Linked DNA regions of Homo sapiens: region 1 is linked to region 2. The links are contacts of gene promoters, found by promoter capture Hi-C in blood cells and fetal thymus (Javierre and others, 2016). All regions are on one chromosome and are shown on one strand. Each heading gives the region's core, a stretch centred on a gene start or on the middle of the fragment in contact. The rest is flanking DNA. Distances are from core to core; before and after follow the strand shown.

Region 1 (5,604 bases), core at 1,690-4,189, 260 kb after region 2:
GTCACTTACTGAGTATTCAGTATTTCATGCCTCAGTCCTGTTAACTTTGAAGAATACAAAAAATACATAAAGCATGATGTCTGCCCCTAAGTTTCTGTTCTAGTTAGATTCTAGTTATGAGGCAGTTAAATTTCTTCACCTGAGGAAAAAAATTAAGCATAACACATGATAACTTTTATTGGTGTTTAATTTTTCTACTTCTCACTAAAGACAGGTTCTCTGAGCATTTACTTTTTAATTTATTCTTACAGTCCTTTTCAGTGGAGAGGGAACTACAGGATAACAGCAGTTACCCCGACGAACCCTGGAGGATAACAGAAGAACAGCGCGAGTACTATGTCAATCAGTTCCGATCCCTTCAGCCAGACCCAAGCTCTTTCATTTCAGGTAAGAATGTGGGCTCCCTAGGCATCACTCTCACCAGAACATAGCCACCATCTTGAGAAATCATTCACGCAAAATGAGTATGGCAGCCTTCTGTGATTTCAGTTTGTTTTTCATCTAAAGTCGAATTTCTTATCAGATGTAAACCATGCAGAAGAAAAGTTGCCAATGACGTTTGGAAAATTATATTTCCATTTCAAAGGGCTTAAGTGGGAATTTGGGGGCAACTTGGCCCAGACCCTGCACCTTATCAGCTGAGGCAGTTCTTGAAATGCTAGCGTGTCGCCCCAAGGGGCCACCTCTCATTGCTTCCTCGTTATATTAGAGCTCGGGCAAGGACAGAATGTGGCCTCCTAAGGAGTTGGTGTCACAAGTCTTTTTATGTTATATGTGCCTTCAAACTTCAAACTCAGGCTCGTTTTCTTTGGCTCAAATGTTTGTCCTCCAGTTTTTCTGAGAGAAATTAAAATGGGGGAGGAAAATTGGCCAGTGCTTTCCCACTTGTCAGTTCTTCTGGGTTGTCTTCAGATATATAGATTCCTGTTGAGTTCTCATGTAAAATTCAAGCTCAGAGGAACTGGTTTAATGCCAGTGTGGCTACATTTTACCAGGCTGAAAGACTAACAGTGAAATAGTAGAGTCTAGAAGAAAAATTCATAAAGCTTTCTTTTTAGACTTTAAAATTTGAAGAATAACAATATGTCCTTAATAATTGTAACCTGCCATATTGAAGTGTGGGCAAAGATTAGTTTTATCTTGTGAAATGAGGCACATAATTGAAATATACTTGTATAAGTAATTGCAAACATCATTTACTGATTGGTGGTAATGGCTTTATTGACGGCAGAATAGTACAGATACAACAAATTAATGTTGACGTCATGATTAAGGAAAATAAGCAGAAACCCATATTGCACGATTTGACCACTTGCTAACCTTACCCCGTGCTCAGGTGAGTTTCTTTACGACATGTGCAGATATTTAGCCAAATACAAACAGGTACTTGTTAGAAATGTTTTTGTTTTCTTTTAACTTTTGTATCTTGCAGAATTTCAGATATAGACACAACTAGTCTGGCTGATACAACAAACCTCTGTGTACCTATCACATAGCCCCAATGATTTTCTCTTACCTACAGTTAACACATAAGGTTGTTTCAGTCAGTCAATGATGGCGGTACCATAACAGTATCACGGAGCTGAAAAATTCCAGCTCCATTAATCACCTAGTGATGCTGTAGCCATCATGATGTTGTAGCACAAGGCAGTGCTCACATAAATGTGATGATGCTGGTAAAAACAAATCTGTGCTACCAGTCGTATAAAAGCCTAGCACATATGATTATGTACAGTATATAATACTTAATAATAAATGGCTATTATTAGCTTATTATGTATTTATTATGCTATACTTTTTTTCTTTCTTTTCTTTTTTGAGATGGAGTCTTGCTCTGTCGCCCAGGCTGGAGTGCAATGGCACGATCTTGGCTCACTGCAGCCTCCGCCTCCCGGGTTCAAATGATTCTTCTGCCTCAGCCTCCCGAGTAGCTGGGACTACAGGTGCATGCCCCACACCAGGCTAATTTTTGTATTTTTAGTAGAGACGGGGTTTCACCATGTTGGCCAGGCTGCTCTCAAACCCCTGACCTCGTGATCCACCCACCTCAGCCTCCCAAAGTGCTGGGATTGCAGGCATGAGCCACCGCACCTGGCCTTTTATTATGCTATACTTTTATTGTTATTTTAGAGTATACTCTTACTTATATATAAAAAAAAGTTAACTGTAAAACAGCCTCAGGCAGGAACTTCAGGAGGTATTCCAGAAGAAGGCATTGTTATCCTAGGAGGCGGCAGCTACCTGCAGGTTATTGTCCTCTTCTAGTCACCTCCACAGTATAGAGGTGGAAGACAGTGTTATTGATGGTCCTGACCTTGTGAAGGTCTAGGCTGATAAGTGTTTGTGTTTCAGTTTTTAACCAAAAAGTTTATACGTGTTTGTGTTTCAGTATTTAACCAAAAAGTTTAAATGGTAAAAAAATTAAAAATTTTAAAAATAGAATAATAGAATAAAGATATAAAGAAAGAAAATATTTTTGTACAGCTGTGCAATTTTTTTAAATTTTTAAATTTTTGTGGGTACATAGGTGTATATATTTATGGGGTACATGAGATGTTTTGATACAGGCACACAATATGAAATAAGCACATCATGAAGAATGGGGTATCCATTTCCTCAAGCATTTATCTATTAAGTTGAAAACAATTTGACTACACTCTTAAGTTATTTTAAAATTGTACAGTGTGTTTTTGTTTTAAGCCAAGTGTTATTACAATGGAGTCAAGAAGGTTAAAATAAATTTTAAAGTTTATGAAGTAAAAACTTACACTCTAAGGTTAATTTATTATTGATGAAAGGATTTTTTTTTTTGGTAAATTTAGTGTAGCCTGAGTGTGCAGTATTTATAAAGTCTACAGTAGTGTACAGTAATGTCCTAGGCCTTCACAGTCACTCACCACTCACTCTCTGACTTACCTAGAGCAACTTCCAGTCCTGCAAGCTCCATTCATGGTAAGGGACCTACAAAGGTGAACCATTTTTCATCTTTTATACCATATTTTTACTCTGCCTTTTCTATGTTTCTTCTTTCTTTCTTCCTTTCTTCCTTTCTTTCTTTCTTTCTTTCTTTCTTTCTTTCTTTCTTTCTTTCTTTCTTTCTTTTTTTTTTTTTTTTGACAGGGTCTTACTCTGTGCCTAGGCTGGAGTGCAGTGATGTGATCTCGGCTCACTGCAGCCTTGACCTCCTGGGCTCAAGTGATCCTCCCACCTCAGCCTCCCTAGTAGCTGGGACTGCAGGTGCACATCACTATGCCTTGCCTGGCTAATTTTTTTGTAGAGAGGAGGTCTCACTATGTTGCCCAGGCTGTTTTCTATATTTAGTTGTGTTTAGATACACAAATAGTTACTATTGTGTCCCAACTGCCTATAGTATTCAGTACAGGAACATGCCGTACAGGTTTGTAGCCTAGGAGCAATAGGTTCTACCATCTAGCCTAGGTGTATAGTAGGCTATACCATCTAGGTTTGTGTAAGTACACCCTGTGCTGTTCGCACAATGAGGAAATCACCTCATGATGCATTTCTCAGAACGTATCCCTTTTTCTAGAAATGGAATCTCATAATATGTGGTCTTTTGTGTCTCTTTCATTTAGCATAATGTTTTAGTTTTTTTTTTAATTAAAACATTTGTGTGGGTACATAGGTGTATATATTTATGGGGTATGTGACATGTTTTGATGCAGACATGCAATACATAATAATCACATCATGGTAAATGGGGTATCCATCCCCTCAAGCATTTATCCTTTGAGTTACAAACAATCCAGTTACATTCTTTAAGTTATTTAAAATATACAATTAAGTTATTGACTATAGTCACCCTATTGTGCTATCAAGTAGTAGGTCTTAGTCATTCTTTCTAACTAGTTTTTTGTACCCATTAGCAATCCCCGCCTCGCCCCTACTCTCTCCCTGCCACTACCCCTCACAGCCTCTGGTAACCTTCCTTCTACTCTCTGTGTCCATGAGTTCAATCATTTTGATTTTTAGATCCCACAAATGAGAACATGCGATGTTTGTCTTTCTGTGACTGGCTTATTTCACTTAACATAATGATCTCCAGTTCCATCCATGTTGTTGCAAATGATTGGATCTCATTATTTTTTTTTAATGGCTGAATAGTACCCCACTGTGTATACATACCACATTTTCTTTATTCATCTGTCAATGGACACATAGGTTGCCTCCAAATCTCAGCTATTGTAAACAGTGCTGCAGCAAACATAGGAGTGCACATATTTCTTTGATACACTGATTTCCTTTCTTTTAGGTATATACCCAGTAGTGGGATTGCTGGGTCATATGGTAGCTCTAATTGTAGTTTTCTGAGGAACTTCCAAACTGTTCTCCATAGTGGTTGTACTAATTCCCACCAACAGTTAGCATAATGTTTTAAAGGCTCATTCATGTTGTATGTACCAGAATTTCATTCCTTTTTATGGCTGAATAATTCCATTATATCAGTACATCCCATTTTATTTATCCATTCATCAGTTGATAGGCATATGGTGTTCTTCCACTTTTGGAGTATTAAGAATAATGCTGATTTGAATATTTGTGTACCAGTTTTTATGTGAACATATATTTTTATTTCTTTTGAATACATACCTAGGAGTGGAATTGCTAGATCAAACTGTACTGGGAGCTGAAAGCATTCAAATTCAATCTCAGTAAGGTCTAACATTTCAAGAACAGCTGGGTCTTGCAGTTATGTAACATGTAAAGTGGAATGATTGCCTGATTTCAGTTGATACAGGTAAATCAACAATGAAGGAAGAAAGATTCCTGGATAAGTTTCTCAAAATGCCACTAGGAATTCTTAAATCTCACCAAAAGCTTTCCCAAGATGTCTGTCTTATCTCTGTGTGGTGTGATCAATGGTATTAATTTTCTTCTTTTTGGTCAGTTTTCTATTACTTTTCTATTTGAAATTTCTATTTGAAATCTGCCAAATTTGTTCAAAGTTTTGAACTTCGTCTTCTAAATTTTTGGAAAAATTTTGCAGATTTTGGTAAAAATGAAGCAGAAATTAATTTATGTGATTTGCATCTTTCATGAGCATTATGTTATTGCTTCTTTTGCCCTATTGTAATTTACATATTTTTAAAAAAGCTATTCATGTGTTGCTTTTGGTCCCATGATTCATAATTGCTTTGAGGAATAAATATGTTTGTGGTTATACAGAAGAGATTGCTGAATGAAAAAATTGTGATTCATTTGTATATAAATGTAAAAGCTACTCTAGCTGAGTAATTAATGGTTTATTTAAACAATGGCACTTGACAGGTTCTGTGGCCAAGAACTTCTTCACCAAATCAAAGCTTTCCATTCCAGAACTCTCCTATATATGGTAAGTACAATTAATGCCATATGACATTCATACCATCATCCATAACTCATCCTTTAGTTCCTACCTTTGCATTTTTTAAAGGCTTATGTTTTGAATGATGTTTTTAACAGACTACAGGAGTGAATACAACTCAGATTTTTGTTGCTGTGAAAATTAAATGTTATATGAAAAGTACAATGAACAATGTCTGGCACGTATTAAGCACTATGAGTGTTAACTATTATTTTAAAGTAATTTCCTAATTATTATCCCCA
Region 2 (5,045 bases), core at 2,382-4,881:
CCGTCCTGTGTCCAGCTATAAACTCTGAGGGTTGCAGTTTCCTGATATCGGCTATAAGGCCAACAGAATCCTGCCTCTGTAATAGTGGTGAGTCCACCTTGAGAGCTCTACATTTCATCACAACGGTGGTCAGAGCATCTCAAAGGTCAAAGAGTTGGGACCTCATTGAGCTTACTGTTCACATGAATTGTTTGATGCCTGCTTGCTCAAGACTTTAATAAACATCTGAATAAATGGAGCCATATTCAGGTTATATTCACATTCCTTAGGGAGCCTGGAGAGAACACCCCGTACCCAATGAGGAGCTATTGTTCTGGTGGCCTTTACCCTTCTAGCAGGCACAGTGTTTGTTTTTTTTTTTTTTTTGAGATAGAGTTTCCCTCTGTCACCCAGGCTGGAGTGCAGTGGCATGAACTCGGCTCACTGCAACCTCTGCCTCCTGGGTTCAAACGATTTTCCTGCCTCAGCCTCCCCGAGTAGCTGGGACTACAGGCACACGCCACCATGCCCAGCTGATTTTTTTTTTTTTTTTTTGTATTTTTAGAAGAGACGAGGTTTCACCATGTTGGTCAGGCTGGTTTCAAACCCCTGACCTCAGGTGATCCGCCCTCCTCTGCCTCCCAAAGTACTGGGATTACAGGCGTGAGCCACAGCGCCCGGCTTTTTTATTTGATAACTTTATTTATTTAGAGACGAGGTCTCGCTTTGTCGCCTACGCTGGTTTCAAACTCCGGGGCTCAGGCGATGCTCTTGCCTCAGCCTCCTAAACTGCTGAGATTACAGGTGTGAGCCACGCCTGCAGGCACAGTTAAAAGACAATAGTCCTGGCGCAAAGGTGAGATCAATGTAAACAGAACATTGGATGACCCTTAAAGTCTTGGACATAAAGAAAGGATAGGCCAGGCATTGCGGCTCAAGCCCGTAATCCCAGCACTTTGGGAGGACGAGTTGGGCAGAGGACGAGTCGGGCAGAGCACTTGTGGCCAGGAGTTTGAGAGCAGCCTGGCCAACATGGCGAAACCCCATCTCTACTAAAAATGCAAAAATTAGCCGGGTGTGGTGGTGCACGCCAGTAATCCCAGCTACTAGGGAGGCTGAGACACGAGAATTCCTTGAACCTGGGAGGTGCAGATTGCAGTGGGCTGAGATCATGCCACTGCACTCCAGCCTGGGCGACAGAGCAAGACTCTGCATTAAAAAAAAAAAAAAAAAGAGGCCAGGCACGGTGGCTCAGGCCTGTAATCCCAGCACTTTGGGAGGCCGAGGTGGACGGATCACAAGGTCAAGAGATGAAGACCATTCTGGCGAACGTGGTGAAACCCCCTCTCTACTAAAAATAGAAAAATTAGCTGGGCGTGGTGGGGCGCGCCTGTAATCCCAGCTACTTGGGAGGCTGAGGCAGGAGAATCACTTGAACCCGGGAGGCAGAGGTTGCAGTGAGCCGAGATTGGCCACTGCACTCCAGCTTGGGCAACAAGAGCAAAACTCTGTCTCAAAAAAAAAAAAAAAAAAAAAGATATGCATTTAATTCAATTAAATATTTTTCATTTCTCTGAAGGCTTGGGGTTAATGGCATAGTTCTTTTCTTTTCTTTTTATTTTTTGAGACGGAGTCTCGCTCTTGTTGCCCAGGCTAGAGTGCAATGGCGTGATCCCGGCTTACTGCAACCTCCGCCTCCCGGGTTCAAGCGATTCTCCTGCCTCAGCCTCCCTAGTAGCTGGGATTGCAGGCACGTGTCACCACGCCTGGCTAATTCTATTTTTAGCACAGACCGGGTTTCACCACGTTGGTCAGGCTGGTCTTGAACTTCTGACCTCAGGTGATCCGCCCGCCTCGGCCTCCCAAAGTGCCGGGGTTACAGGCGTGAGCCACCGTGGCCGGCCTCTTTCCTTAATAAAGATAACTTTATTGATTTTTTTCATTCCATACATACTTAAACAATATAGAAAATCATGAAATTTGAAACCAGCCTGGGCAACATAATGCCCCATCTCTAAAAAAAAATTTTTTTTTGAGGAATAACTTACTTTTGTGTGTGTGTGTGTGATGGAGTTTCTCCTCACCCAGGCTGGAGTGTTCAATGGCACGATCTTGGCTCACTGCAACCTCTGCTGCCCGGGTTCAAGCGATTCTCCTGTCTCAGATCCCAAATAGCTGGAATTACAGAAGCCCACCACCGGCTGGGGGCGGTTGCTCACACCTGTAATCCCAGCACTTTGGGAGGCCGAGGAGGGCAGATCAGGGGGTCAGAAGTTCAAGACCAGCCTGGCCAACATGGTGAAACCCCTCTCTCTACTAAAAATACAAAAATTAGCCCAGCGTGGTGGCACGTGCCTGCAATCCCAGCTACTCGGGAGGCTGAGGCAGGAGAATTGCTTGAACCTGGGAGGCGGAGGTTGCAGTGAGCTGAGATCGTGCCACTGCACTCCAGCTTTGGGTGACAGCAAGACTCCGTCTTGGGAAAACAAAAACAAAGAAAAAAGAAAAGCCCACCACCACCACCATGCCCGGCTAATTTTTGTATTTTTAGTAGAGACGGAGTTTCACTGTGTTGGCCAGGCTGGTCTGGAACTCCTGACCTTGTGATCCACCCGCCTCGGTCCCCCAAGGTGTTGGCATTACAGGCGTGAGCCACCGCGCCCGGCCTCATAATGAATTATTTAAGACAATATATCAGGATTTCATGATGGTCTGTGCCTTTCAGAAGCTCGGCCATTGGAGATCTGGTTCCATCAGATGGAAATAGGGAATATTCCTGAGGAAATCTCCCCTCTCCCCCCCAACATCATATCAATAAAAAAAAAAATTCGGTTCAGCAAACCGAGTTTGTTGAAAAAATTTAGGTAATGAAACGAGTAAATGGGGTGGGAGAAAGCAGGATACATTCAACATGAATGAAGTGCCAAGTAAGTGTGCAGAAGCCGGGGCGGTTCAACCAAGGTGAATAGAATGCGGCACCTATCCCGCGGGAGCTCGGGACAAGTAAACCGTGGTAACAACTCTGGTGGAGGGGCAGGGCTCGGGGCAGGTGCCCGAGCACGAAACTTCAAATTCTAAGAGCCAATACACCTTCCGTCTTGAAAGTCGTGAAGTATTTTCCCTTATCCCCAAATCATTCGCGCCCAATTCCTAAGAACGGCAACAAAAACAAAAACACAAGAATGTGTCGCCGATCGTGCTCCTTCTCAAACACGGGGATATTTCTAAACTTTCCGCGAAAGATCATAACGAGTACCTTCCTATAGCCAGACATCGCCCCCAGAAACCGCAAGTCCCACTAGGATGCACACGAAGCACACTGGGTGCAGCACTCTCCCCTTTTCAGAACGCCGCCTTATGTCCCAATCCCGATCCGAGCCTGCGAGCTGTGGCCGCACGCCCTGCTGGGACTTGTAGTCCACTCCCGAGTCCCATTCCCGATCCGCGCAGACTCACACGGCCTCTATCTGCCCTTCGGTCTTGCTGAAGCCCAGCCCAGTATTCAATGCTCCCCATCCCCATCTCGCTCCGTCCCCTCGGGGGCCAACCTCCTCCGGTCACGTGGGAAGTCTCACATGCGGCGATTGGTCGTGGGGGCTCGGGGGCGGGGCGAAAGGCCCTGCGAGATTCTGTGCCCCTTGTCGGGCCGCTTGTTTGGCTGCTGCCGTCACCTCATGGCGACGCGGGTAGAGGAGGCAGCGCGGGGAAGAGGCGGCGGCGCCGAAGAGGCGACTGAGGCCGGACGGGGCGGACGGCGACGCAGCCCGCGGCAGAAGGTCAGTCAGGGGGACGCCCTCGTTGTTGTCGGGCCCGGGGGATGTTTGGGCTCCCTTTTTCAGGGTCCACCTCTTCTCTCTCCCTGGTTACCTATAGCCACGGGACGAACATCCGGTCTTCTTCCCTCCCGGGGGTGACGACAGTGGGAGCAGGTGGGGGGGGGTGGGACCGCGATGGATGGGGTGGGAAGGGACGACGGTTGGGGTTTGGCGGCGCGCGGCGGGGAAGCCGGGAGGGAGGGCAGGGGGCGCACGCGGTTCTAAGGGAGAAGGGGTGCGAGGCGGGGGTGCGCCAGGTGTGACAGCCACGTGCGGCCAGCACCGCGGGGATCCGGGCGCCAGGCGTTCCTTCTCCCAGTCACCGCCGTCACCGTGCTCCCGGCGCTGAGCGCCGCCGTCCGGGGGCTCGCTGGGGTCGTGGGCTCGCCCTCCTGGCGTCGGGCAGGTGCGCAGGGCGCGCTGCGGGGTGCCCCCGGGCTGCTCAGGCTAGGCTGTTGCGCAGTAAGATAACCGCGCGGGAGCCGGGGTGTGCTTGGCCCCCCTTCCCCCGCCCCCCTGCGCTCCCCGCCACTGCGCGGGCGGGCAGGCGAGCGGGTGAGTGTCGCAGGGCCGGTGCGAGCGGGACGCTCGGCCCCCGGGACCTAGACCCCGGGGCTCCGAGGGCTTGGCTGCACGTGGGGCCGGGGATGGATGGGGAGGCGATGCTGGAGGACCTCGGTCCTGCAGAGTTGGGATATCGCATGATAGCTGGTCCTCCCAGTCCTATTTACCACCCTCCTCTTTTTTCCCCTCTTTTTTTTCTTTCATTTATTATTTTTTTAATTTGATGAGTGGAAACTTGAATGCCTTCCCGACCCTGGCCTTGGGTCTTTCTTAATCTGGGAAACAGGCCGGACTGTTCCCCTTGCCTTACTTGACTCACGTCAAGGAGTTTTCAGTCCCTCCCTAGATACAGGAAAATTGAGACCTCTTTCAGAACGGGACAATTCCACTTGTTCTGGAGCTCAGTGGGTGGAGTTTGAAAAAGATTGCACAACGAACGGGGTACAGGGTTTTCGGGGCCCTGGAATGGATAATTGCGGGGACTGAGACTGGGAAGGTGGGAACCCCATCTCTTTTTTTCCTTGCAGGTGAACATACTGAAACGTTCGACTTGTTGGATATCTTGCTTGATCACCGAGGGCTATTTAATATTACTTAATTATGTATTTGAACACTCTTAACTCCTGTATGAAATTACGAAATAATATTTTTCTAATGCAATTCATAAACTTCAAATGGGAGAACAAA

Evidence for each region. The method cuts DNA at HindIII sites, captures the fragments that hold promoters and counts their contacts. A CHiCAGO score of 5 or more calls a contact.
Region 1: a contact is called between a fragment that was not itself captured here and the fragment with the promoter of TXLNG in region 2, in 1 of 17 cell types (total B cells). The highest score is 5.9, in total B cells.

Annotation. Positions count from the first base shown.
Region 1 is chrX:17,047,096-17,052,699 of GRCh38, forward strand. REPS2 (RALBP1 associated Eps domain containing 2) reads left to right here. Exons shown (of 18, transcript NM_004726.3): 6 at 252-387; 7 at 5,287-5,350. Among named protein-coding and RNA genes, the nearest start is that of REPS2, 100 kb to the left of the region's middle. The HindIII fragment of the contact is 3,790 bases long and covers 1,045-4,834 here.
Region 2 is chrX:16,782,835-16,787,879 of GRCh38, forward strand. It overlaps TXLNG (taxilin gamma), which reads left to right and starts at 3,632. Exons shown (of 10, transcript NM_018360.3): 1 at 3,632-3,755. The coding sequence starts at 3,654. It overlaps LOC124905250 (a long non-coding RNA gene), which reads right to left and starts at 3,432. Exons shown (of 2, transcript XR_007068398.1): 1 at 3,236-3,432; 2 at 2,826-3,129. RefSeq lists enhancers at 3,028-3,227, 3,199-3,931 and a silencer at 3,978-4,417. The HindIII fragment of the contact is 8,203 bases long and covers 1-5,045 here.